7 separate regions of the Homo sapiens genome follow, and regions 1, 2, 4, 5, 6 and 7 are each linked to region 3. The links are contacts of gene promoters, found by promoter capture Hi-C in human tissues and cell types (Jung and others, 2019). All regions are on one chromosome and are shown on one strand. The core of a region is centred on a gene start or on the middle of the fragment in contact, and the rest is flanking DNA. Distances in the headings are between cores, read along the strand shown.

The links. The method cuts DNA at HindIII sites, captures the fragments that hold promoters and counts their contacts. A contact is called where the count stands out against the background at its distance.
Region 1: a fragment that was not itself captured here is called in contact with the fragment with the promoter of ID4 in region 3 in 2 of the 25 tissues and cell types used here (H1 embryonic stem cells and mesendoderm cells).
Region 2: a contact is called between a fragment that was not itself captured here and the fragment with the promoter of ID4 in region 3, in 1 of the 25 tissues and cell types used here (heart right ventricle).
Region 4: a fragment that was not itself captured here is called in contact with the fragment with the promoter of ID4 in region 3 in 4 of the 25 tissues and cell types used here (dorsolateral prefrontal cortex, hippocampus, mesendoderm cells and 1 more).
Region 5: a fragment that was not itself captured here is called in contact with the fragment with the promoter of ID4 in region 3 in 3 of the 25 tissues and cell types used here (aorta, heart right ventricle and thymus).
Region 6: a fragment that was not itself captured here is called in contact with the fragment with the promoter of ID4 in region 3 in 1 of the 25 tissues and cell types used here (mesenchymal stem cells).
Region 7: a fragment that was not itself captured here is called in contact with the fragment with the promoter of ID4 in region 3 in 3 of the 25 tissues and cell types used here (H1 embryonic stem cells, hippocampus and mesenchymal stem cells).

The regions. Positions count from the first base shown.
Region 1 is chr6:19,020,809-19,023,936 of GRCh38, forward strand. The region is part of intron 2 of LOC105374958 (a long non-coding RNA gene); the gene reads left to right. Among named protein-coding and RNA genes, the nearest start is that of TRQ-CTG1-1, 190 kb to the left of the region's middle. The HindIII fragment of the contact is 7,195 bases long and covers 1-3,128 here.
Region 2 is chr6:19,145,389-19,148,498 of GRCh38, forward strand. LOC101928519 (a long non-coding RNA gene) reads right to left here. Exons shown (of 11, transcript NR_110860.1): 5 at 223-298. Among named protein-coding and RNA genes, the nearest start is that of TRQ-CTG1-1, 310 kb to the left of the region's middle. The HindIII fragment of the contact is 7,624 bases long and covers 1-3,110 here.
Region 3 is chr6:19,835,895-19,838,640 of GRCh38, forward strand. It overlaps ID4 (inhibitor of DNA binding 4), which reads left to right and starts at 1,476. Exons shown (of 3, transcript NM_001546.4): 1 at 1,476-2,301; 2 at 2,690-2,746. The coding sequence starts at 1,861. The coding sequence ends at 2,734. The HindIII fragment of the contact is 7,095 bases long and covers 1-2,746 here.
Region 4 is chr6:19,041,760-19,044,786 of GRCh38, forward strand. The region is part of intron 3 of LOC105374958 (a long non-coding RNA gene); the gene reads left to right. Among named protein-coding and RNA genes, the nearest start is that of TRQ-CTG1-1, 210 kb to the left of the region's middle. The HindIII fragment of the contact is 4,276 bases long and covers 1-3,027 here.
Region 5 is chr6:19,272,912-19,276,003 of GRCh38, forward strand. No RefSeq gene overlaps it. Among named protein-coding and RNA genes, the nearest start is that of TRQ-CTG1-1, 440 kb to the left of the region's middle. The HindIII fragment of the contact is 7,231 bases long and covers 1-3,092 here.
Region 6 is chr6:19,166,516-19,169,330 of GRCh38, forward strand. The region is part of intron 3 of LOC101928519 (a long non-coding RNA gene); the gene reads right to left. Among named protein-coding and RNA genes, the nearest start is that of TRQ-CTG1-1, 330 kb to the left of the region's middle. The HindIII fragment of the contact is 3,647 bases long and covers 1-2,815 here.
Region 7 is chr6:19,230,273-19,233,295 of GRCh38, forward strand. No RefSeq gene overlaps it. Among named protein-coding and RNA genes, the nearest start is that of TRQ-CTG1-1, 400 kb to the left of the region's middle. The HindIII fragment of the contact is 3,750 bases long and covers 1-3,023 here.

The DNA.
Region 1 (3,128 bases), core at 338-2,837, 810 kb before region 3:
TGTGGAGGAAAAGAGAGAATAAGAGTGGACCAAATGGGCACCTGTATCCTAGACAGGATGTAGAAGTCATATAATTTTGCTTCGTGTTTAGTGAGAATTTTTCTTCCCTTTCCTTCCTTTTCCCTTCCATTTCCTTTCCTTTCCTTTCTTGAAACTTGTATTAACAGCAAACTCATATCGATGCAGCATCAACAGATGAAGCCAAATTTTGCACAAACATCGTAAGATTTCTAACTAACCACTTTAGGATATGTGTGACTTGTGTCCAGTGGCTTATTAGTGTGAACAAAATCACGGAATCAAACGAGCCTGACGACAACTGCATGGAGTGAGAGATTGGGTCTGGGCCACATGGCATACTCCTATTAGTTTTATATTATCAGTTAATAATAATCGTGTGTTACTGTCTCAACAACCCTGTCATGTAGACAAGAAAACGAATGCTGGGGATATTATGTACTTGATTTCAGGTTGTACTAGTGGTAAATCTTGGGCTCTTGCTGCCAAGATTTGAGCCTTTTTCTTAGACTGATTATTTTCAAATGCCTTTTATCTCCATAATTTTATTTTTAAGGAAACTAAAACGGAGAAGTGTAATGCAAAAAACAGACAAAATGGGGCTACTCTGAGTGAGGCTGCATGAGAAGAATATACCAAGGGCTCTTTGTCCCTCCCCTTCACCCTCTCCTTCTTGGTTTCCAGAGCCAGTCTCTCAGGTGAACCTTCCCTGAGCCTGTGTTCTTCTCAGATGGCAGAGTTTGCAGCAAGAGCTCCCATGTAGTAGTTTACTTTTGGATAAGTGGTTTACTTTTGGACTGGGAAGAGAAGAAGAGTTATATAGCTGGCCATCCCTGTGGGCAACTGGAATTCATTCCTGCTAGGACCCTCTGGGGGAATTATACAGAATAAGTTTCAGAAAATTGTCCTGAGGAATGGCAACTTGGGAATGTTTACCTACTGGCTCCTGCCTCCATTGGTCAAGCAATCCCCCTGGGAGTTTTAGCCCTCCTCACATTTCCAGTTTTGCCCCTGTGTGAGCACAGAGTAGGTTCCTGCAGGCGTCGCACGCAGCAGCCCGCATGGGAGGTGACGCACTCGGAACAGAAGGTGAGAGATGCATGGTGCCAATGAGGAGAGGAGCTCTCAGTCTCAACTTCCCCAAAGCTGGTTTGTCCAGGAATGTTGCTGGAGCAAATGGCAGTTTGAGAGATGGAAGGAGGGGTGCAAGCACTGAATACAAACCCTGGGTTAGGCTTTCTGAAACCTGTTTCACAGTGGCCCACTGCCTACATTAGAATCAACTGGCATGCTCCTAAACTGTAAACTCCTGGGCCATGCCCCAGAACTGCTGCATTGGAATCACCTCAGCTGTGATTCTGGAATCTTCATGTTACATGAACATTGTTAGGTGAGTTATGCACAGTAAAGTTTAAGAACAGCTATTGAACATTTGGATTTGGATTCAGCTGTGACCAGTTTTTGCTGGCTTAAACATCCTGACTCAGGGATACCTCTTTTATAAAGGGCTGATACCATTTCTTATCAGGCGAAGCAGTTGCTAATATTAAGTACGGTGAAACAGGAAGGTGATGGAACAATTATTGTGTAAATGGAGATACACACCCCACATGCTTGTATTCTCCTCGGGGATCTTCTCTATTCCCCTTTTCTCATACCTGCTTCAACTTCGAGCCTTTTGGGTTTTATTGAAATACTCTTGACATTTATGCTTGGACACTTGAAAAGTTTTTTCTCTTTACACTATTAAGCATTTTGTTGATTGACTTTGGCCTTTGTGCTTTCTCCAAATCTGTTCTTTTCCTTACCTTTCTCACTCTTCAGGGTATTTCCGGTCTAAATATTGGCCAAATAATTCTCTACGCTATAATTTATAAAATATTTCCTCTTGGGTCAGGAAAATAAGAGGTTTTATTGCAGTTCAGTTCCAAAAGTAGTAGACAGAGACTGGGTGTTTAAACAGGGCCTGAAGCAAGGTTTTGCCAACCTTTCAGAGGCTGCATAACAAATATTTTTTATTTGCTCCGTCAGGTGTTGGAGTTAGCTATAGCCTCCTGAAGGTCATCTCTGAGCCTTCACTCCCTGTTACTCACACCAACCTTTATGAGTCCCCTATGAAAATAAAATCACCCTAGGAGGGATCATACTAAGCTATAATCAGTTAATACCTTGCTTTTCAATTAACACTCTAGCAGGGATTATTTGAAAGTCGTCTGAGAACAGAAATAGAGGTAGGCTGGCACTTGGAAAGCCTGGTTAGAATAAGAAGAAAGAAAGAAAAAGACAGGAAATCTTTACAATTTTGTTTAAAACTGGTAGGTGGCCCAGGCACTCCAAATCACTTGGGCTGTCTCAGTTTTCCAACCTGTGGTTTAAAGGCACGTGATTGTGAAAATTTGGCTTTTAAGGAGAATCAGGGTCTTCTTGAAGAAACAAACAAATCCAGCAGATCATCCACCTACTCCCTGTTGTTACATATGGTATTATGCCCCTACCAGTGTATGACTACAGTGTATAGAAAGAGAGAGACAGAGACAGAGAGAGAAATGTCTTAACAATCCCCATGCTATCCTTTATTTGCTTTGTGTTCTTTGTGTTTATTGCCAACATAACTTAAAGGTAAGGGGTGCTTAAGTCAACAATATTGATGTGATGGTTGCTACTCTAGTGAGCTACTGGGACAGACCTCATGAGATAAATTACACTCATGAGATACATTCATGTTAGGATTAGGATTTTGAGCCTAGTCCTAACATAAAAAGAGCAGCATCTCCTCTCCAAAAGGACAAAAGCAAGTTGGTTGCTGTAATTTCAGGTAGTTCCTTGTGTGGTTATATTGTACAATCTACCTCTCCACATCTGCCTGATTAATGATTTTTGTTTACTTAATTTTAATACAATAGTACAAAAGAATATATGTGACATATGTATGTTTGTATGTATGTATATATATGTATATGTAAGTCAGGGGTCCTCGACTCCCAGGCCATGGATGGGTACTGGTACTGGTACTGGTTGCTGTTAGAAACTGACATAGCAGGAGGTGAGCAGTGGGTGAGCAGAGCTTCATCTGTATTTACAGCCACTTCCCATTGATTGAATTAACACCT
Region 2 (3,110 bases), core at 264-2,763, 690 kb before region 3:
ATAATTATCTGTTTCTTTGTTTCCTTTTTGACCTATTTCTGCTGTAACACAGTGAGTTTCTTGAAAGAAAATGGAGTTTATTTTATAAATATTAACTGGATGGATAGATGCATGATGTACCAGCTGTGTCTATGGACCCCTCTCCCACACTGACCTGCTTCTCTTCTTGTTTCAGTTGTCTTAATGGTCCTCCCCTTCCACTCATTCATTAAGAGTACTCACTTGAGCTAAGCATCATCTTTGAGCATTTCCTCTTCTTCTGTATAATATATGTGAAAATCATGAGACATAGCTAGTCCTTGGAGAGAAAGAAAATGCATGACTACATGCCATTTGGGTAGGTTGTTACCAGGCTATTGTGAGTAAAATATCTGTCAAATTGGTATTTTTAATTGAAAAAAAGAGTTATGTTTTCTTTTAGCTTTCTGGTTTTCAATGTAAGACTTGGGTGAAATGAGCTCTACTCATATCACCTGGCAATGGCAATGTGCATACTATATTTTAGGAAATTGTCAAAAACTTTAAAAGGATTCTCACAGCTCAGCTCTATTTAAAATTCAAGAGGGAAAAAAATTTTTTTTAAAGTCAAGAGGGCTTCAGATGTCCTCCAAGCCCTGGTCTTCCTCACGCTAAAGCTTCCAGAGCCAAACATTGGAGACCCCATTTTTAGCAGAGAACCCACAGCCTCACATTATGTGGGGACTCAAGGTACCATATTTTAGCCACTAAATTTATTTCTGGACTCTTGTTAGTGACTACATGAATTCTTTAGGGCCCCATGGCAAGGCGATCTCCAGGGATTTTAACACATTCTGAATTTGGGTTGCAAAGGAGTCTGGAGACTGTTGCTTTCAGCTGGAGCCCAGAAGAACTGACAATGAAAACTGCAATAAAAGCTCCTGGTGACCTCCTGAGGCAATACTGCTACTTTTGAAAATAAACGTATTTACCTAACAATCACTTAGAAGGAAATTTTAAGATATATGATTAAAGTGTATTAAGCTACAGATATAAAAATCTAATCTTCAAAAGGAAGCACAGTATTGTGGTGTAAGAATTGGATCACAAATAAGAGATCTCTTTTATAGCCCTGGTTTCACCCCCAACTAGTTATATGAACTTGGACAAGTAATTGAACTTCTTTGGGTTTCAGCTTCTAGTCTATATATAACATGTGACCTGAACCATAACTTTCTATTTATCTTTGAATTCTCTGGCTTTCTCAATCCATATAATCCTTTGCTTTCCTATTCTGATAAACCAGCCACACACTTGTAGCTTTGCCTTTTGTGAACATGAATTCCTAATAATTAAACTGAATAATGTCCCCTCAAAGTCTTACTTAAAACATATACTTCAGCTTGCCTGTACGAAGCTACCTGTCTTCTCTCTCTCTCTCTCATCAGCCCTCATGAGATCCTGCTTTAATTTATGTGAGTAGCTTGCAAGACTGAACTAAGAAAGGGCTGTTTCTAATATAGTAAATCAAAATAACATCACATTCACTTGAAACAATGTTTTTGAAATTCAAGTTCAAAACAGGTAATTCAGACTTCACAAATACTTTGGCTTCACACTTGCTTTCCTTCTCTACTATGTCTTCAGTGACATTGTGCAAAAGGGCAATTCCATTTCCATAGGTTACATTGACTTTGCAGAGCTGAAGAATCAAAAAAAAAAAAAAAAAAAAAAAAAAAGAATGAAAAGAAAAGGAAAAAAAAAAAACACCAAGAAGGCTTGGTTTGGGCCTAGGAACTAAATAAGCACAAGATAAAAATCACAGTGGAAGTGAGTGTCATTGAAATAAAGTGACTTGTTTTTATCGCAAGGCTATTTTCAGTTAAGTCCACTCTAATTCTTATCTTTATTCAACCTACAAGTTATAGATAATGCATGACTATATTAAAATTCTCTTCTTGGCCTGAATCTCCTATCTCCAGTGGACAAGCTGGGTCCTTGACAACTTGATTGTATGTGTGTTGATTTTTAAAAGACAACATGAAATCTTTAAAGTTGGAATTTCCTGATTATTTTAGACCAGGTTCTACATACTGCACTGATACTACAGAGCAATTTTAGAGAGCAATCGTAATTGCATTAAGTGACTTCACATGATTAGTAGAAGCAGAAGGAATAGGTGATCTGGATTGTTTTTGAGAAAGCTGTTAATGAAATATAATATGCATGTAGAAAAGTGTAAAAATCTTAAGTGCTCAGTTTGATGTATTTGAACAAAGCAAACACACCCCTTTAACTATCAGACTAAGAAATGGAACATTAGCACCCAAGAAGCCCCATGCCCTGCCCAGTCACAATTCCCCAAAAAGTAATCACTGTCATGACTTCTAACAACATGGTTTAGTTTAGCCAGTATTCGAAATTTACATATATCGAATTATATAGTGTGTACTCTTCTATGTCTGGTTTCTTTCACTCAGTAGTGTGTGCAGCAATTATTCATGTCATTCATGTGATAGCAGTTCTCATTGCTGTGTAGTATCTTATTGCAGGTATCAACAATATATTAAATATCTATTAATATTTGTGCTCTTACAAATAGTATTTTGGGAACACATGCATATGCATTTCTGTTGAGCACAAACATTTAGGTAATAAACTATGCATACTATATATATTAATGGAGACTGCCAAACTTTTTCAAACAGCTGTACCAATTTTCACACCCATTAGAAGTGGGTGAGGCTTCTAGTTTCCCTACACGCTTACAATCTGTTGATATTGTCAGTCTTTGTTATTGTAGCCAATTTGGTTGTATCGTAGGAGTTTTATATTTTAGTCAGAATTTCCTTGACAACTAATGAAGGTAGATATTTTTCATATTCTTATTGGCCATTTGGATGTGCTTCTTAGAGAAGTGCTTGTTGAAATCCTTACCTTATTTTTCTACTGACATATCCTTTTGTTACTGATAGGTAGGAGTTTGTTATGTATCCCCAATATAAGTCTTTTGTATGTGTGTGTGTATATGTGTGTGTGTGTGTGTGTGTGTGTGTCTGTGTGTGTGTATTCATTGCTAATGTCTTCTCCCTCTCTGTAGCTTGCCTTACCACTCTCCTAATGGTGTGTTTTAATGAAACTGTTTTAATCTT
Region 3 (2,746 bases), core at 226-2,725:
TCCATATAGGGGTAGACAGGAAGAAATGAGGTCCATGTCTCTTTCTTTCAATTATCTATGAAAATGAAGACACCAATCCATGTCATGTACACGAATGAAGAAAATTCTTGGGTTAATTCATCTCCAAGCGTGTCTAAAGGTGGGAGGGTTTGTAGAGTGAAGGCACTCAAAATTCATTTCCCCATTGTCTGAGAATTTTTATGCACCTTTCTCATCTGAAGGGCTCAATTTTTTCTTGAAGGGTACACACAATGCTCCACCAAAGCTCATTGTGCAATTTTATTTTGAACCCTTGAAGGACAGCTTTTCTCTAAGAAATCTAACACAAAAACGCCCTTAATTAACAGGCTTTTTTTTGCAGGGTGGGGCCCAAGCGGGATCCCAGAGACTGGAAGTGTGAATTTTAATGCTTTGCTGTCAAAGGAGGCGACTCTGGACATTCTCATCACCTTATTTAAAGCGGGGTACGCTGACTAATACGTGAAGCTGTGCATTAATGGCCTAAATTAAGTTACAGGTATGAATTTTACATAAAACAGATTAATATTATATGTCATAATGGAATTTTAAATATTCCGTGTCCATGCATTTTTAATCTTTACGTGCTCTAATTGAATGCGCAAGGCAACTGCATTTCTTGAGCCCACTTTTGCATTTAGATGGGGTAAAAGAACCCCCCCCACGTTTTTGTTTTATTTATATTCCCTTCACCAAAAACCTGCATTCGATTCGGCATTCTTTTCCTTCTTTTTTTTTCTACTTTTGCTAAGCTTTAGCATTTTTTAAAAAGAAAACGGAAAGGCTACACATTCCATTCCATCATTATGGTTTCGGCAAATGTGAAAAGGCGAATAATGAAACGGAGGAGGGAAATATAGAACAGAATGAACGTGCCTTCTTGAACAGCGCGTCTTTCTTAAGGCACTGGAATCCCACGGATGGAGTGATGGGTGGCGGAGGGTCCCTGGGCGCCGTGCTATTAGGAGTGGCAGGGTATCCGCGAGCAGGGCCCAGGCGCTCCCTCAGCAGCCTAGTCGGGATAAGGGGGGCGGTGGAGAGTGAATTCCGGCCGCACATTCCCGCAGTTCTTCGCAGGAACTTCGCTCTCTCTTTTCCCCTCCCTTGGGCACACATCAGCCTGGCCCGACTCCCACTCAGCTCTCTTTTCTCAGAACCCCGACCCACAGCGTTGACGGAATGGAGTGCCCTTCCCATTGGCCCGAGCGTCATTCCCCGAGGTGGCACTGCCCGCCTGATTGGCTGGCCACTCCAGACCCCCCGCCCACTCCTCCACTCGGGTAGCCGGACTCCCCGCCCCCCAGCACCGCCCGGAGCCCCCGCCCTCGCCTCTCCCTCCGCGCCCCCGCCCGCGCGCCCAGCGGGCTCCGCTCGGCTCGCGCTGCGACCCGGCCCGCGCGCTGGTCCCGCCCCCGGGGCGCACGGCTCTATAAATACAGCTGCGCGGCGGGCCGGGCGAGAGCGTAGTGGAGGAGGCGCGGTTGTGAGTAGTACCGGGAGTGGGGTGATCCCGGGCTAGGGGAGCGCGGCGGCCGCGATCGGGCTTAGTCGGAGCTCCGAAGGGAGTGACTAGGACACCCGGGTGGGCTACTTTTCTTCCGGTGCTTTTGCTTTTTTTTTCCTTTGGGCTCGGGCTGAGTGTCGCCCACTGAGCAAAGATTCCCTCGTAAAACCCAGAGCGACCCTCCCGTCAATTGTTGGGCTCGGGAGTGTCGCGGTGCCCCGAGCGCGCCGGGCGCGGAGGCAAAGGGAGCGGAGCCGGCCGCGGACGGGGCCCGGAGCTTGCCTGCCTCCCTCGCTCGCCCCAGCGGGTTCGCTCGCGTAGAGCGCAGGGCGCGCGCGATGAAGGCGGTGAGCCCGGTGCGCCCCTCGGGCCGCAAGGCGCCGTCGGGCTGCGGCGGCGGGGAGCTGGCGCTGCGCTGCCTGGCCGAGCACGGCCACAGCCTGGGTGGCTCCGCAGCCGCGGCGGCGGCGGCGGCGGCAGCGCGCTGTAAGGCGGCCGAGGCGGCGGCCGACGAGCCGGCGCTGTGCCTGCAGTGCGATATGAACGACTGCTATAGCCGCCTGCGGAGGCTGGTGCCCACCATCCCGCCCAACAAGAAAGTCAGCAAAGTGGAGATCCTGCAGCACGTTATCGACTACATCCTGGACCTGCAGCTGGCGCTGGAGACGCACCCGGCCCTGCTGAGGCAGCCACCACCGCCCGCGCCGCCACACCACCCGGCCGGGACCTGTCCAGCCGCGCCGCCGCGGACCCCGCTCACTGCGCTCAACACCGACCCGGTGAGAGGCCGGGCGCCGGCCGTGGGCGGACGCCGCGGGGGATGGGAGGTTGGTGGCGTGGTGGCGGGACGCGGGCGCTCACCGTCCTCCGGGCAGGGGCGGGCCAGGAATGACAGCCCCCTCCCCCTGCTCCTCCGGGCTCCCCCGGGCCGCCAGCAGCCGGCCGGGCTCGGCGAGCGCGGGTCCGGGAGAACGCGCAGGGCGGGACTCGGGGCTGTGGGCGCCCTGGGCTGTCAAGTCCCGCCTGAGCCCGGAGGGGCCCCCCCGGCTACAGGCTGGGGTGGGGGCGTCGGCGCGCCAGCCTGATTTCCGAGGACAATCCAGGACCGTGTCGAGCGCGTTGTTTGCGCCTGCTAACCTTTCCCTTGGTGTTCGGTTGCTGTTCCAGGCCGGCGCGGTGAACAAGCAGGGCGACAGCATTCTGTGCCGCTGAGCCGCGCTGTCC
Region 4 (3,027 bases), core at 20-2,519, 790 kb before region 3:
TCACCAGAGGTACTGCCACTGGTACCCACAGTGCCTGTAACACCCTTTCAGAGGCATGCAGTTGGGATGAAGGGGGCACATAAAATATGAAAGTAACCAATGAACTTCTCATTTTAGCAAACACCTCCCCACTTTCTAGCCTCCACATCCTTAGATATGGGGGACTTCCTTTTCCCAAGTCCATCGCTACAGGTTTTCAAATCATAGTTTACTGAATTATTTCAAAACTTACTGAATGAGAAGTTATTATCCACTTGGCTCTCTTGATTTCCAGAGTCAACTTAGAAGAGCAGATGTTCCGTTTCTTTCCCCAGGCGCTATCTATCCCAGATCGGGGGCTCTGGGAACTGACAGAGGTGTCGACAGATCTCCCACATACATCCTGATTCATGATAAAGGGAGCCTGACTGAAAAAGTTCTCACTCTCTCGTATCACACTACTGACTGTGACAAACATCAGTAGATCCTTTTTTTTTTTCTACTACCATGAATAAGAATATCATTTTACCATTTCTCTCAGAGCACAGAAGCAAATAGAAAGGAAGAATCCCATTATTTTCATTGCATAAAGCTATCTTGGGCTCTGTTCATCAGAGAGTTCAATTTTGCTGAATAATTCTCTATAGACACGAATGATAGAAGAGGGGATCATTACCCATCTGTTTGCCCTCTCGGCTTTTGTTCAGCCCTTATTGTCTTTTCAATCTGGATCCATCTGATTGCTTTAGTGACGCAGGAAGACATCACCAAATATGAGCACATTCCCAGGCCCAGGAGCCTCTCGCCACACTGAGGCAGAATGATACAGAGTATTTTGCCTTGGAGCATTTCAGCAAACTGGGGCTGGAATACGATGCTTAAGGTCAAAGCAATGGCATCTGTAGCTGGGAAAGGGCCAACGGAGATCATTTTTATCTTCTACTGTACACATGCAGTCTATTTATCACCAGGCATCAAGACCTTTACTGAACAGCCAGGAAAATCACAGAGAGCAGAGCTCTGGTCTCTGCTGTCAGAGGTGCTATTTGTATTATTTTGCCTTGTTTTTCCCTGGAACCTCATATAAAGCTTTTTCAGGCTTGGGCAAAGCTTTGCTTGGATTTTCGTGTCAAGAAGACAAATTTAAACTGGAGTTTGGAAAGGAAGGAGAGACTTTTGAGCAGTATTATTTCTGACTTCCAGTTTGTAGAATCCACAGGAAATTCTTTTTGGGAAATGGATATGGTTGCCAAATTGTATAAACTTAATTAGAAAATAAAATGATTGTTTTCTATCAAACCACATCCACTTAAGCCCCATGTGAAAAACCCATCTCTAATTCTCTTCTGACATTCTTTTTGATGTGAGCAGAATTACAGATTATTAAATAGAGACAGTTTAGAATCAAAACCTTTTCATTGCTGAAAATTGCCTTTCACTTATTTTGTAAAGTCCACCTGACTTTCTACGAGCCCTATTATAGAAAGGAAATTGTAGCTATACTTAAATCCTTTCAATTCACGCTCTTAGATCCAATAGGATGTAAAAGGTAAGAGAAACACTAACATCTTACAGGGCCTGGGTTCAATTCTACACTGAAAACACACACACACACACACACACAAAACACCCTATGTCCTTTACATCTCAGAACTTCATTTTCCTCACCAATAAAAATACAGTTGAACAAAATTGCTTCTAAAGTCCTCTCTTTTTCTGAAAGTGTCTTTTCCTTGATAGTATTTCCTTCGAGTAACATTTGCACTATGTATTTACTATTTCTCTATATTGATTTTGTGGCTACTCTATTAACTAGAAACATACTTACCTTTGTCTTCATGAGTGTAACAGGCCAAAATGGAGAAAGTGACATGACCTTCAACCTTTAAAAGCACGTTGTCCTAAACAATTTCTGGGCTGTGCTCCTAATGTACTTGTGATTATGCCTCTTGTTTCATTTAAGATTTGGCAATAAGAAATTTAGAAAGAAGATGCCTATTATGTTTTCATTCTCTCCCCTACCCATTTTCATTTAACAATGCACTGCTATGCTATCATGTACTTATTTTGTAATTTACTGTTAATTTTTGTGACACCATCATAATCAGCATTTCAAAGCATATTTGAAAGATGCATTGTTTCATGCCGTTTTTGTACAGTAAATTGCATTTTGATGTTATCCATTTTCAAGGTTGCTAAAGCACACTCATAACAGGTCATCATGATCCTAGATAAAAACAACCCAGAAGCACCAGATTACACATCCCAACTTAAAAAAATACAGGGATCTGATTTTGCTTTTCAGATTCAAAGAACTGGCTTCATCCTGTACTTCTTCAGTGCTTGAGGGAAAAATATAATAAGATATTAAGATATAGCTTCAAAATTCTGCTCCTCGAAAGTCCTGTGTAGTGTTCACTTACATTTCTGAGAAATAAAGAGAAGAGGTTAATAAGCCACATTTACTAAGTCTCTTCTATCATATATTCCAGATGCCGAATACTTTTGCTTCTAATCCCTAAGTGGGTAGTAGTATGCTTATACTGCAGATGAGAGCTAAATGTTTGCAAATATTTTAGAAATTGCTGTATGTTTCACAAAAAGAAAATACACATCTTTTCGAATTTGTTTTTTCTCTGTCTGGTATTTCACAAGGAGGACCAAGGTTTAAATATTTTTCCGTCTTGCAAAGGATCTTTACTGAGCCAACCATAATGGAGCATGTAATTCATGAGCCCAAAGTCCTTCTCTGCTATAGAAGCATCTACTTGCCCTACACTTTTTATGATAAAAGAGGACACAGTCCCTCCCTCCCTCCCTCCCTCCCTTTTTCTTTTGTTCCTTTATTTTTCATTTATTTAAAGACTATGTTTTTAGAATATTTAAAGCTCACAGCAAAATTAGGAGAAATGTACAGAGATTTTCCATATGACCCTTGCCCCTTCACATGCATAGTCTGCCTTATTATCAACATCCCCCTTCTGAGTGGTACATTAGTTAGCATTAATAATCCTCCATTGACACATCATTATCACCCAGAGTCCATAG
Region 5 (3,092 bases), core at 202-2,701, 560 kb before region 3:
GGGGAGAAACAAAACAAACCAAAGCCATGGGTGGTTTTGTCTTTCAGATGGGAAACACTCTGGCATCAACAGGCTCACCCTTGAAATGCATCCTAAATCATTGGGACCAATTTGACCCACAAACCCTGAAAAAAAGGCAGCTCATTTTTTTCTGCACTATGGCTTGGCCCCAATATTCTCTCTCTGATGGGGAAAAATGGCCACCTGAGGGAAGTGTACATTACAATACTATCCTGCAGCTTGACTTTTTTTGTAAGAGGGAAGGCAAATGGAATGAAATACCTTATGTCCAAGCTTTCTTTTCATTGAAGGAGAATACACAACTACATTTTACATCTCACAGGAGGACCTCTCAGCTTACCCCCATATCCTAGCCTCCCTATAGCTCCCCTTCCTATTAATGATAATCCTCCTCTAATCTCCCCTGCCCAGAAGGAAATAAGCAAAGAAATCTCCAAAGGACCACAAAATCCCCCAGGCTATCGGTTATGTCCCCTTCAAGCTGTAGGGGCAGGGGAATTTGGCCCAACATGGGTACATGTCCCATTCTCCCTCTCTGATTTAAAGCAGATCAAGGCAGACCTGGGGAAGTTTTCAGATGATCCTGATAGGTACATAGATGTCCTACAGGGTCTAGGGCAAACCTTTAATCTTACTTGGAGAGATGTCATGCTATTGTTACATCAAACCTTGGCCTTTAATGAAAAGAATGCAGCTTTAGCTGCAGCCCAAGAGTTTGGAGATACCTGGTATCTTAGTCAACTAAATGATAGAATGACAGCCAAAGAAAGGGACAAATTCCCTACCAGTCAGCAAGCCATCCCCAATATGGATCCCCACTGTGATCTTGACTCAGATCATGGGGACTGGAGTTGTAAACATCTGTTGACCTGTGTTCTAGAAGGACTAAGAAGAATTAGGAAAAAGCCCATGAATTATTCAATGATGTCCACCATAACTCAGGGAAAGGAAGAAAATCCTTCTGCCTTCCTCGAGCAGCTATGGGAGGCCTTAAGAAAATATACTCCCCTGTCATCCAAATCACTCAAGGGTCAATTGATTCTAAAAGATAAGTTTATTACTCAATCAGCTGCAGATATCAGGAGAGAGCTCCAAAAGCAAGCCCTAGGCCCTGAACAAAATTTGGAAACATTATTAAACCTGGCAACCTCGGTGTTCTATAGTAGGGACCAAAAGGAATAGGCCCAATAGGAAAAGGGAGACCAGAGAAAGGCCACAGCCTTAGTCATGGCCCTCAGACAAACAAACCCTGGAGGTTCAGAGAGGACAGAAAATGGAACAGGCCAATCACCCAGTAGGGCTTGTTACCAGTGTGGTTTGCAAGGACACTTTAAAAAAGATTGTCCAACGAGAAACAAGCCACCCCCTCATCCATGTCTGCTATGCCAAGGCAATCACTGAAAGGTGCGCTGCCCCAGAGGACAAAGGTTCTCTGGGTAGAAGCCCCCAACCACATGATCCAACAACAGGACTGAGGGTGCCCAGGGTTAGTGCCAGCTCACGTCATCACCCTCAGTGAGCCCCGGGTACATTTAACCATTGAGGGCCAGGAAATTGACTTCCTCCTGGACACTGGCATGGCCTTCTCAGTGTTAATCTCCTTTCCTGGACGACTGTCCTCAAGGTCCGTTACCATCCAAGGAATCCTGGGAGAGCCTGTAACCAGGTATTTCTCCCACCTCCTCAGTTGTAATTGGGAGACTTTGCTCTTTTCACATGCCTTTCTTGTCATGCCTGAAAGTCCCACACCCTTATTAGGGAGGGATATATTAGCCAAAGCTGGAGCTATTATCTACATGAATATGGGGAACAAGTTACTCATTTGTTGTCCCCTACTTGAGGGGTGAATCAACCGTGAAATCTGGGCATTGGAGGGACAATTTGGAAGGGCAAAAAAAATGCCTGCCCAGCCCAAATCAGGCTAAAAGATCCCACCACTTTTCCTTATCAAAGGCAATATCCCTTAAGGCCTGAAGCTCATAAAGGATTACAGGATATTGTTAAACATTTAAAAGCTCAAGGCTTAGTAAAGAAATGCAGCAGTCCCTGCAACACCCCAATTCTAGGAGTACAAAAACCGAATGGTCAGTGAAGACTAGTGCAAGATCTTAGACTCATCAATGAGGCAATAATTCCTCTATATCCAGTTGTACCCAACCCCTATACCCTGCTCTCTCAAATACCAGAGGAAGCAGAATGGTTCACTGTTCTGGACCTCAAGGATGCCTTCTTCTGTATTCCCCTGCACTCTGACTCCCAGTTCCTCTTTGCCTTTGAGGAGCCCACAGACCACATGTCCCAACTTATGTGGATGGTCTTGCCCCAAGGGTTTAGGGCTAGCCCTCACCTGTTTGGTCAGGTACTAGCCCAAGATCTAGGCCACTTCTCAAGTCCAGGCACTCTGGTCCTTCAGTATGTGGATGATTTACTTTTGGCTACCAGTTTGGTAGCCTTGTGCCAGCAGGCTACTCTAGATCTCTTGAGCTTTCTAGCTAATCAAGGGTACAAGGTGTCTAGGTCGAAGGCCCAGCTTTGCCTACAGCAGGTCAAATATCTAAGCCTAATCTTAGCCGGAGGGACTAGGGCCCTCAGCAAGAAATGAATACAGCCTATACTGGCTTACCCTCGCCCGAAGACATTAAAACAGTTGCAGGGGTTCCTTGGAATCACTGGCTTTTGCCGACTATGGATCCCTGGATACAGCGAGATAGCCAGGCCCCTCTATACTCTAATCAAGGAGACCCAGAGGGCAAATACTCATCTAGTAGAATGGGAACCAGGGTCAGAAACAGCCTTCAAAACCGTAAAGCAGGTCCTAGTACAAGCTCCAGCTTTAAGCCTTCCCACAGGACAAAACTTCTCTCTATATGTCACAGAGAGAGCAGGGATAGCTCTTGGAGTCCTTACTCAGACTCGTGGGACAGCCCCACAAACAGCGGCATACCTAAGTAAGGAAACTGATGTAGTAGCAAAAGGCTGGCCTCACTGTTTAAGGGTAGTTGTGGCAGTGGCTGTCTTAGTGTCAGAGGCTATCAAGATAATACAAGGAAAGGATCTCACTGTCTGGACTA
Region 6 (2,815 bases), core at 80-2,579, 670 kb before region 3:
ACAGTGAGCTTCTCTTGATCGTCAGCTGGATCCAAGAACAAGGTACTCAATTTCATGTTCAGAAATCCAAAGAGCCCGAGGAACACATTTCACAGACTTCTACCAGCAAAGGAAGCTTGCATATTTACTCTGCGATTTGGCAATTTGAGTTTATTTCTGTCACAGTAAGATGTTACAGGAGGAGGAGCAAACTACTAGTGGGTTCTCCTTTTGAATCTGGAATGAATTTACTGATGGTTCATCATCTTGGCCCTGAAAAATACTGTTGTAACAATGAAACTATATGTTTTTAAAGTATTTTTAATGGAAATAACATAGATAACCATAAGAATATTTTTAAAAATTAATTTTCATTTTTCTTGCATACCTTTGCATTTACTTTTTATATTCCTAGTAGTGGCAGGAGTATTAATAAAGCAATGATGATTTTTGTCATTATTACTCATTATAGAATCGTTATAGAACCTGGGAGTAAGTCACTTCTTTAACATTTGGGCTGGGATATATAGGGTAGGCGAGTGCCCTTTTTAGCCACAGGCCACCTCAAATCATTGATGAGTAAGAAGAAAGGGTGGTAGATGTGGTGAGTAGAAAACATAGTGGACAGAAGACAGAAAATAAAACATGGCAAGAAAAGGTCAAGGTCAAGTGGCAAAGGAGAAGCACAATTACTATTCTGAAATGTGAGTCAGGGTCATACTACTCTGCCCACCCTCCATCTCTGCCAGAATGAGGACTGTCCATTCCCTGGTAATGTGGGTTCTTGGCCCTCTACCTGCATTGATAAATTCACTATACTTTGCAACGACTATTTTTTTTAATCATGCCAAAATGCAATTCTAAATACGTAATCATAGATACCACTCCCCTCTCCTCAACAACAGGGTCTGGCATTTAAAGGATTTCCTGAACTCAAAGCTATGGCATCAAGCCATAAAACCCTCTGGGTTACTCTCAGCCTATTCTTGTTTGTTTGGCAACAAAATAAGGCAGAATCAAGAAGCTTAGGAAAACTTTTAAGGAGCTGCAGTCTGTGTGGGATGACCACTCACCACTCTCAATCCCTCCTCCCTGGCAACTTCTCATATTTTCTGTAAAGCAGTGATTTTTCAAAGTGAGGTTTCAGGCTACATAAATCAGAGTCAATTGTCTTGCCTAATAAATATACAGATTCCTGGGCTCTAACATCCTAGGCATGGTGTCTAGTTGCCGGCATTTTTGACAAGCATTTCAATTAGGTCTAAAGGAAGAACAGAGTTAGAGGCTAATATGTAAAACAGTGAGCTTCTCTTGATCGTCAGCTGGATCCAAAAACAAGGTACTCAATTTCATGTTCAATGTGAATTAAAGCTTTCTGTAAGTCCTCCTTCCACCCAACTACCTGCCCCAATTTTGCTCTTTGGTGACTGTCAACTGAGCTTTGCAAGGGTATTAAAAATAACCACCATATTCACAGATACTATTTAAAGAAGTAACTCCTCTCAAGGATGTTTGCATTTTTAAGGAGTCTCCAAGAAGTTATAATCTCTTTCTTGATGAGAAGAGAAAAGTGATAATATTAAAGGAAGCTACCTTGTCAATTTGTGTTATGCACAAATGCTCAAATAAGATAATAATCACAACCAACATTAACAACATTATTGCTAATTCCTATCACAAACCATAAGAGAAGTAATATCTCCTTTTCACTCAAGAAATCACTGAGGGTTCTTGTGATAAAATGCTTTGTTCCAAGGCCATACATTTAGTAGATACCTAAGTCAGCCTCATATTAGGTTGTTTGGGCTACATAATTCTGGCTCTTTCTATTAGACTGTAATTCATTCTGAAAAAAAAAAATAATAATAGCTTTTCACAGACAAAATACACGTTAGACACCAGCCTTAGAGAGTTCTGGTGACATCCATTCGGCTAAAGTTGTTGGAACTCTCATTATTTTTATGGACGATTAAAGCATTTTACATGTTTCCAGACATTTCTTTAATAAGGTTTAGCACTACTGGGTTGAAAATATGCCATTTTCATTACTGCCCTGAGATTCTCCCTGTGCCCAACTCTTTTTATTTCTGCTACTTTAGTTTCATTTCTATCACCTTTCAAAAAGCAGCGTGTCTCAAATTATTTATATTTGAGGTTATTTACATTATTTTGAACTAACTCCTAAGAAAGGTTATAGATTTTTAGAGAAGTGTAGGAAGTGTGGGAATTTATTTGTGTAATTCTTGCTTGTTGACTGGGGAATGAATTCCCAGGGTTTATCAACCTGTTCTGTCAGTTTGACATTTAGTTTAAAGTATTTGCCACTCAGATTCTCAAGGTACACAATCTCCTTCCTATGTTCATCTCTTGGATATTTTTGGAGAGGATCTTCTAGGTGTGAATTCTAGATGCATTTTCCCAACTATTTTAGTTTTTTTTTAAATTTTTTTCTAGCAAGAACACAATTCTAAAAGTCAAACTTCCAACATGTGTTTTGGAAACTTAGGTAGCAATTTATTAAAACCAAACATTAGTTTTACTCAAAGACATGACTCGAAGGCTTTGGAATTATTCTGAACTTGTAGGTACTCTCGAAGAAGCTACATGGAGAGAGGCCATCATTCATTTGCTCTGAATAAGAGAAATCAATGGTGAATATAAAGCACATATGATGATCTGCCTTGGTGCATTCATTGCATTTGATGATCCTGGGTGTACTTGTTTCGGAGGCATTGCTCTTTACTCTCTGTTCTTCTGTGTTATCAGAGGAAGAGCAGGTACCAAGGATTTTCCTTTCTATCAGCCACACTTTGGCTGTGTTTGGTCAATGGTAGAC
Region 7 (3,023 bases), core at 118-2,617, 610 kb before region 3:
TATTTCACCTAGCATAATGCCCTCCAGGTTCATTCATGTTGTTGCAGATGGCAGGATTTCCTTCTTCTTAAAGGCTGAATAATACCACATTGTCTGTGTATACCACATTTTCTTTATCCATTTATCTGTTCGTGTACATTTAGGTTGTTTCCACATCTTGACTGTTGTGCATAATGATGCGATCAACGAGCATGTGAATGCAGATATTTCTTAAAGATTCTAATTTTATTTTCTTTGAGTAAATACCCAGAAGTGGAATTGCTGGATCATATGGTAGTTATACTTTTCATTTGAGAATGCTGCATCCTGTTTTTCTTAATGGCTGTACCAATTTACATTCCCACCAACACTGTGCAAAGACTCCTTTTTCTCCACATAGTCGCTAACACTTGTTATCTTTTGGTTTCTTTGATAATAGGCATCCTAATAGATGTAACATGATATTGATTTGCATTTTCCTGATGGTTGTACTTCTAAAATCTTCTTTCAAAATAATGATTCTTTTTACATACTTTTGAATTTCATTTGCTAAAAATTTTAGAATGTTTTTGTTATTATTGATAACAGATTAATCTATATAGTTTTTTTTGTGTGCACATCTTTATCAGGTTTCATTACCAATTTTATACCCCCTTTCCAAAATGAATTGAGATTTTCTTTTGTCTAGTCTTTTCCAGAACAATTTAAATAGCATTGGTATTATTTGCTTTTAAAATATTTGAATTCCTTTATGAAACTGTCCAAATCTGCCACTTTGCTGGGAATAACCTTTGCATAATTTTGTCTATTGCCTTTATTGAAGTAGTTCTGTTTAGATTTTCTGTCATTTGTGTTGTCATTTTGTGTAAATCATATTTTTTTCATCCAAGCTTTTCAATTTAGAATTCTTATGAATCTTTAATTTCTTCTATTCCTATGTGGTCATTTCCTTTTTACTATCTGGTTGTGTGTTTCATTGCTTGTTTGTTTTTAATTGCAGTTTTTTTCTTTTTCTTGATTAAGTTAGATAATATTTTACTATTTTTTTCAAAGAAACATCTTTTGTTTTTATATACCAAATCCATCATTTTTCTAATTACTAGAATTAGAAAATACAGGCCATAGGGTCTCTGTCACAACTGTGCCATTATAACATGAAAGTAGCTGTAGATCATTTGCAGATGAGCGAGTATGACTGCATTCCAGAAAAACTTTATTGTAGATTCTGCATCCTAAATTTTATACAATTTTCACGTGTTGAACTATTATCCTCTGATTTTTTTCAACAATTAAAAAATGCGAAAACCATATTTTGTAGGTCATATGAAAACAGGCATTGAATGAGATTTGGCATAAGCTGTGGTTTGCTGGTCTCTATTTCATCTGCTGTATCTTTAGACATTCATTTCTTTATATGGTATCTATTGGTTCCTTAATGTGAATAGTAAAAACTTTCCTGTATTTTCTTCCTGTACCCTTCTTTCTTCAATGTTATTCTGTCAACATTTTCTTTCTTTTACTTCATACTGTTAAATAAGAATGTACTTCCATTGTGTGAGTTATGAACATTTATTGACAAGCTTTGACCCTAAGTGATCATAGATAATGCAACTTATAAATGTATCCACCTTCTTTTCAATATTTTTCTTCAACTTTTTTGGTGTATAATATTTATATAGTCAGAATATACAACAATTTATTTGCCACATTCTACTCTCCAGAGTCTATGCCAACTCCCCAGAACCAAGCCAGCTCCCAGAGGCATTCTGGACCCAGGGTTCTTGGCACAAAATTTCCAAAAGACAGAGGGTCCCTTTGAGCCATGTCCTGGAACCTGAAACCAAGCCAAAATAGCTTTGAGAGAGAGAGCGTGCGTGGCAAAGCAGCTTCAGAACATTTTGTGTCATATATTTGCTGCTAGCCTCTTTGCTTTATAATCTTTTAAACTTTATTTTTTCCTCCTGAATGTTTTAGTCTGTTATTGTTAGTCATTTCAAAGAGGCTCCTATTAAAGCTTTTGTGAGGCTAGACTCTCATTCCTCTCCATGGCTTCCCGCTCAGCACTCTGCCTCTGCTCTCTCTAGCTCTGTTTACTTATAAGCTTGCTTTTGGCAGTCAGTTAAGTTTATTTTACATTTTACTGAAGTGTGAGGGGAAATACTGATAGAAAAACTAAACAAAATTCCTCACAAAATGGTATCACCCGAATGAGCAAAGTACCTGAAAGAGTCAAACATCCGGGTGCCCAGAACTTAAAGCCTGATTTTTCTTCCCTATAAGGCACCCTTAGCCTTTCTTCCTGCTCTGGCTGGTGATAAGATCATCTGAAAATTAATCAGTAGTGGAGAGGGGCCTGTATTCATTGTCAACCCACATTGCAAGTCTGGGTCTCTGCTTCCCCATGTTTCTTGTCTGTATTGCCATAAGCTTATCAGAATAGGGTGTACAAACTCCTTTGTTGCTGCTTTAAAGAAATGGAAATGCTAGATCTTCTATTAAGTTAAAGGGAAATTTTTCCTACTCCTGACCCAGCTATCAATGATTATTGTAAAATAACATCAAAGAATTTATCCCTTAATATAGTCATGTGTCTCACCATAAGATGTATGTTTTCAAAGAAAAATTACAGTAGCCATATATAAAACTAAAGGTACATAAAATGATAGTGAACACATAAGTTTACATGATTTTTCATGGCAATTCTAGTAGAGTTGACATTAAGCAGACAAGAATGTGGAGATATATATGATTATATAAAGAGATACACACACATATGTCTTTCTTTAAATATTTCAATAGCTGATATACATTCTTATAATCTTTTTGGAGTAATGTGGCAATTTAACACAAAGGAAAAATATAATTTATAAGAGCAAATACAGTCATCTGAAAAGATTATTCCCAAAGGATATAAAAAGGGGCTGAATGTTATCTGTGAAACAGAGGAGGAAGAACAAGAACTTAGAAATATTGGTGAAAATAAAAATACAGACAGACTAAGGGACCCTACATAAGAAATTGGAATAACCCATGACAAAGATGTT